Linked DNA regions of Homo sapiens: region 1 is linked to region 2. The links are contacts of gene promoters, found by promoter capture Hi-C in human tissues and cell types (Jung and others, 2019). All regions are on one chromosome and are shown on one strand. The core of a region is centred on a gene start or on the middle of the fragment in contact, and the rest is flanking DNA. Distances in the headings are between cores, read along the strand shown. Region 1 holds the start of ZNF264 (zinc finger protein 264). Region 2 holds the start of ZNF418 (zinc finger protein 418).

Region 1 (3,213 bases), core at 97-2,596, 740 kb before region 2:
TTTTGAATCAACACATTATAGACATTGAGCCTCCCCTTCCTAAAACTCGAGACACTTTTATTTGTCTTATCTGATTTCCTTTCTCAGGAAACCAAGCATCAGGCCTCCCAGATAGTATAAAGAAACTGAAACTTACTGGATTACCACATCTGGAAAAACGAGATGCTATACCCCTTACCCATGATGATTGCCTAACTGACCATCTGCTGCCTGTTGACCCATTCCTCTTCCTTACCCCTTCCTAATTCCTGTTTTCTCAAACATAGTTACACTTCTTCCCTGATGTATAAACCCCTAGTTTTAGTCAGTTGAGGAAAGAGATTTGAGATTGATCTCCCATTTTCCTCAGCTGCAGCACCGAATAAAGCCTTCATCCCTGACAATACTCATTGTCTTGCTGACTGGCCTTCTGTGCAGCAAGCAGCAGGATCTAGATGCAAGGACCTGGCCTTTCTGGTAATATTGTCATCAACCATTTAATGATGTAGACTTGGTCCCCGGCTCATGCTCTGTGTATTTTCTTCTCCATCTACATGCATTGCCTTGATGGTCTCACTCAATATCATGACTTGAAATAACAGTGTAAGGTAACTCCTAAATTCATATATTCATGCTCAAACCTTCTTCCAACATTCAGTCGTAAGTCGAATTGCCTGTGACAGAGATACTTTGTGGTTCTGTAGACATTTCAAACTAACCATCCTGAGCCTCCGAACCTCCTCCACTTGCAGCCTCCCCACCTCAGAAGTGGGCAAATCCACTTTTTGTGTGGTCTGGGCCAAATACATGACTCCCTGCATCACGTAGAGGCTGTGCTGGTCCAAAGAAGGCTCAAAAGAGGGCAGTTTGCGCACACAACGTGTCGGGGCAGGGCTTCCAGATGATCATTCGGCTTTTTTGTGTCTTCCAAGATGATGATCCGGGGAGGAGGGATGTGAAAGGGGGTCAGTCGCCAGGCGAGCTGAGGACCCAGTTCTGCGCCTTTGCCTGTGCCCTGACCTGAAGGAAAGTCCCTGTCTCCCGAGCTCCGATTTTCCCGAGAGAAGAATGCAATGTAACCCTTGCCCCTCGGTTCCCTCCCTCCATCCTTCCCCTCGAGTTGTGCCCACCGTAAAGAGGTGGGTCTGGAGCGTCTCCTCGGGTCCTGGAGTGCCTTTCCCTGGGAGGAAAACTTGCGCCGTGAAGCGTTCCTCCCGTTGTTGAACACATGAGGAAAACTACACTACTTAGAAGGCTGTGCATTATGCGTACGGCGGGAGCTGGGCCAACGACGGCCTAGGACGGGGACGTTTCCGACGGCTCACGCCGGTGGGGGCGGGACTTCCGGGTTGCTCGCTGCGGACGCCATTTTCTTCTGCACTTCTGTCTGGAGAGGTCTGTAGCCACTGAGGGCCCCGGTCGGGGCCGCTTTGCAGGTCCCTAGTCAGGACCGAGCAGGGGAGTAGGATAGGAATCCCCGCCGCACCTTTGTACGAGCCTGACCCCTTCCGTGGGTTTGTTCCTGGGTCGCCGTCAAGCTGCGGTCTCTCCTCCCCCGCCCTTCAGCCCCGCGGTCTCCAGGGGCGGCGCCCTGGGTCTGGAACGCGGTTGCCACCGAGGAGGCGGCGGCCCTGCGTCTGGAACGCCGTTGCCACCGAGGAGGCGGCGGCCCCGAGCGCGCCTGGAAGCCCCGGGCAACCGGCCAGGGTCGGGCACAGGTGGGGTCCGTCAGGCCGCCCGGGGCTCCTCTGTCCCAGCTCTGCGGCCCAGGGGGTGACGTGATGGCGGCAGCGGTGCTGACGGACCGGGCCCAGGTGAGTGGACGGTGGCTTCGCGGTTGCCGCTTCCTTGCCAGCGCTGAGGCGGTTTCCGAAGTGGGTGGGAGCCCAGGTATCCCCTGGATTTGTCTTCGCAGTCGTCGTTCGCTTTGGTGTGTGGAGCTGGTTTGCCACTTAATTTATACCTGGCCGTAAGGAGTGTTGGGCCTACTGGAAGGAGCTCCGTAGGTTGTTGAGTGAATGATGCTTCCTCTGGGGACTCCCATCATCCTTGGCCTGCAAGCATTCTCTGGTGGACCAGGTCTCATTCCAGCATGAATTGGGGGCCTGAGGGGGGAAGGGGAGGGCAGGGCAGTAGCAAGCCGACAAATGCGCGAGCAGAGACAAGGTATGTTGTATGTTTAAGGAGGCTCAGGAGGGTGTGTAAGGTTGCCATGGTTTTCCTGCGGCCGCTGAGACGTGGAGGGCAACAGTGTGTGGTCTTTTCCTGGATGTTCTAGCCATCCGCAACTACTGCAGACATTGTGGCCAGTCAGATGCCCTTACTCTCATCGCTACAGCCTGCATTATCCTTGGCCGCTCGTGTTCCGTGGCCCCAAAGTATCCTGGCGTCAGAGACAAGTTCTGTCGGAACCCAGTAAGGAAAGAGGCCGATGGTTGGTTCATTGTGGAATTTCCTTGGGGGATCTGGGAGACCCAGGGAGATCCCAGAGGGCATGGGAAGCTGGTCTGGAGCCTGTCGTTCCCCAAGTAGATGCAGCCCTTCCAGTGCCGCTCTGTGGGGTCAGTGAGGAATGCTGAGCTTTTTGTGCCCGTGTTCACATACTTTTTTTTGTTTTGAGACAGGGTCTCACTCTGTCGCCCAGGCTGGAGTACAGTGGTGCACTCTCAGCTCACTGCAGTCTCTGCCTCCCAGGTTCAAGCAATTCTCCTGCCCCAGCCTGCCGAGTAGTTGGGATTACAGGCATGCACTACCACACCTGACTGATTTTTGTATTTTAGTAGAGACTGGGTTTCACCATATTTGCCAGGCTGGTCTTCAACTCCTGGCCTCAAGCGATCCGCCCACCTCGACCTCCCAAAGTGCTGGGATTACATGCATGAGCCACCATGCCCGGCCCACAGATACGTTTTTCAGGGCTAATTGAAATAGACTTAATGTTAGAAATGAGTGGAAATGCTTATAACTTCATCGCATTAGATTTGCTTTGATGTTGGGGGAGTGTTGGAGTTACACTGTTAGACCGTGAATCATAGTAACCCCATGTTTAGATCCTATCTATGGTGGTGAGATGTGTGACTGGGTGAATTGATAGCGCTTCCTTAGCATGAAGTCATTGACTGTGAAGGTGATGATGGTGTTGACTGCAGGGACTGTGAAAGGATTAATAAAAATCCCAGAGCACACTGAGCATTGAATACTTTAAATTTAACAACTGTTACTGGTGGGAAGTGT
Region 2 (3,047 bases), core at 324-2,823:
AGGAGTTTAAACTCTGATCCTCCTTCCTCCTCCCTCAAACACAGTGTGTTCTCTTCTTTGCAGCCAGATGATGCCTGCAGACAAATGGGACTGTGGTAACATCACCTCCTCGCCGCCCTCTTGCCTCCCCACCGAATTTTTACCTCTAAGCATTTCATGACCTGGTACCAACTCTGTAGTTAACCTTCAAAGTATGTTTACATGGGTTGACAGAAATGGGAATACCTCCATACATCCTGTGTCATGGACTTAGGATTCTGGGTTTAGGGTTTCTCCAGTGTTCTCAGATCAAAGGACTGAAAAAATGGCAAGTAAGAGTCCCAGGACATCACAAGCTAGAGAACATGTGAATGGGGAATAAGGCCAGTGAGGGAATGGAACACCCTCTAATTCCCTCTGTGGGTTCCTTTTTTTGAGCCAGAGTTTCGCTCTTGTTGCCCAGGCCGGAGTGCAATGGCTCACCGCAACCTCTGCCTCCCGAGTTCAAGCAATTCTCCTGCCTTAGCCTCTGAGTAGCTGGGATTACAGTCATGCGGCATCACCACGCCTGGCTAATTTTGTATTTTTGTTAGAGACGGGGTTTCTCCATGTTGGTCAGGCTGGTCTCGAACTCCCGACCTCAGGTGATCCGCCCGCCTCGGCCTCCCAAAGTGCTGGGATTACAGGTGGGAGCCACCTTGCCCGACCCCCTCAGTGGGTTCTTTACGTGCTTTTGTAGCCAGGAGTGTCTGAGGGGAAAGCAGACGTTACAAAGGGGATCTGATAAGCTCAGGTCTCCTTGAACCTTTTCTTATCGCTGGAGCCAGGTGACCTCAGACTGGTTGACCTGCGTGTCTCAGTGCAAAATGTCATCTCTACCACCTATGTGATCTATCAACAAAGGAGTCAACCTCCCAGAACCCTAAGGTCCTCATCTCCTCTACTATGTTCTTCCTTTGGCCTTTGGGAAACCTTAAAAGCCTGGACTTGGATCGCATCCCTCCTTTCTTCGAAACTCTCCATGGCTTCTAGCGTCTTCACAGCGAATACACAGCCCCCAGCCTGCTCTTCCAGGAGAAGCTTCGCCTCACACGTTGTTCCCTACAGGCGCCTGTGGACCCCAGGTTCCATCCTCCCGGGTCTGTCCTCCAGGCCATAGCCCGCGCCGGTCCCTGTGCCTGTCGCTCTCCCCACCGCATCCCACAGGTGTCAGAAACAAGGACCTCTCCCGCGAACGCCTCAGTGTCCCGACGCCGGGTCCGGGCTGCAGACCTGTGAACAGTCGCCGCTCTCTCGCTGCTTCAGGATTCGGGTTAGGATGAGGTGACCTGAGGGCAGGGAAGGCACAATTACCTGAGCCGGGAGCCTCAGCGCGGCCGCCGCCATCCCGAGTACGCGGGGAAAGCACTGCCGGGAGCGGCGGGCGCCGTTACGGGGCCTAAGATCTGCCTCTGTGCAGCAAGAAGGACTCTTCACCTTCTGGGTTCAGACACCGCGGTTCGGACCCATAGCTCCAGCGCCTCTCACCTCACAAACCGCAGAAACACACCCAACATTAACCAAAATGGTCGCTACCAGAGAACGCTGAGAATCCCGCCACTACGTTACGTGCGCACACAGAAACGCCTTTATTCTGAGCCCTTACTGGTTCTGTTGCGCTGTCATTCAATGTAGAGCTTTCTGGGTAATGTAGTTCCCCAGGTTCCAAGGTAGTAAAGCTGCCGCTTCCCAAAGGCGCTTCTGCAGGGAAGTCCCAGCCCTACCTCAGGGGGTTCATTAAAGCGCGTACCCTTTTAGGGCAGAGGATGGTCTCGCCCCTCCTTAGAGGCCATATTGAGATTCCTGGGGAATCCCTGTTTGTAACTGACCACCTAAGTGTTTGCAAAAATATTAATTCACATTTCTGTAAATTCAAGCTCCCAGGCGCTAAAAATACTGTGAAGGCCCCCAAAGGCTACAAATCCAAATTCGTGTATCACTTTATACAATCGTTTAGACACAGAATGCTTGCACTGGAAGCAGAGGCTGATAAACATTACTCTGTTATAATTCACATGAATGCACTCTTGTTACCGGATAGAATGTCTTGGCTGTGAGTTGTCCAGTTGTTGGCGCATTGAACAAAGAAGTGAACAAAACACACAAAAAAAGCAACGAAAGAACGGACCAATGAAAGCGCAGATTTATTGAGGGGAAAGTACACTCCACAGAAGTGGAATGTAGGTGTGGGAGCAGGCGACCAAGCGGCTCAAGAACCCCGATTACAATGTTTTTTAGGGTTTTATTAGGTTGGTGCAAAAGTAATTGCGGTTTTTGCCATGAATAAGCTAGAATTTTATAATACCCCAAGAGTTCTTTAAAGGCCTCCAATCCTATGAAGGACTGGTGCACAACCAATCAGAGGCTGAAGTGGAGACTTCTGTCTTGTTACCACAGGAGTGAGGACGTGGCCTGTGTGCTGCCTCATCTTGCCTAGAACTAGCTGCACCTGCTGTTCTTTTGCTTATGCCTTCATTCTTGGTTACCCTAATTCCCTATTCTCCTGCCTCACTCTGAGGCATTAGAGTTGGTTTTTCAGTCTGCCAGGGACAAAAGAGAACTAATCCAGATAGGACCATGCCAAGGAAGATAGAGGAGAGGCTAAAGAAAGAGTACAAAGGTCAATCAGTCGTTCCCATGGAAAAACAACTCTCCTGCTTATATAGTCAATTATTGTGTCCAATTCATTCAGCAAAACATTTATTCATGTAATATCCCTTACTTGGTATTCTAACTTATATTTTCAACTCATTTTAGGAACTTGAAGTCAGTCTCAGGTAAAGAACAATGAAAGAGAAATCTCAGCTTGGTATTGGTAATGGTGGTGATAATCTCCACCTGGAGACACTAGGCGTATGTTAAATTATCGAGCTTGTTATCTTTCCTGGGAAGTGATTATCATTTGTTTCTCTTGTGACAGCGGGGAGTGTTCTGCATGAGGAACTAATATGATACCAGAAAAACAGGTGAAATGCCAGTTACAGAAACTTATTACCAACGACTATCTAATAACTGCGATGACAGAAATA

The links. Contacts are between HindIII fragments. The study calls those that stand out against the background at their distance.
Region 1: a contact is called between the fragment with the promoter of ZNF264 here and the fragment with the promoter of ZNF418 in region 2, in 1 of the 25 tissues and cell types used here (adrenal gland).

Annotation. Positions count from the first base shown.
Region 1 is chr19:57,190,154-57,193,366 of GRCh38, forward strand. It overlaps ZNF264 (zinc finger protein 264), which reads left to right and starts at 1,347. Exons shown (of 4, transcript NM_003417.5): 1 at 1,347-1,793. The coding sequence starts at 1,761. RefSeq lists enhancers at 1,183-1,242, 1,263-1,352, 1,363-1,422 and a silencer at 1,593-1,862. The HindIII fragment of the contact is 13,408 bases long and covers 1-3,213 here.
Region 2 is chr19:57,933,829-57,936,875 of GRCh38, forward strand. It overlaps ZNF418 (zinc finger protein 418), which reads right to left and starts at 1,574. Exons shown (of 6, transcript NM_133460.3): 1 at 1,333-1,574; 2 at 1-74. RefSeq lists enhancers at 977-1,859, 1,452-1,541. The HindIII fragment of the contact is 9,006 bases long and covers 1-3,047 here.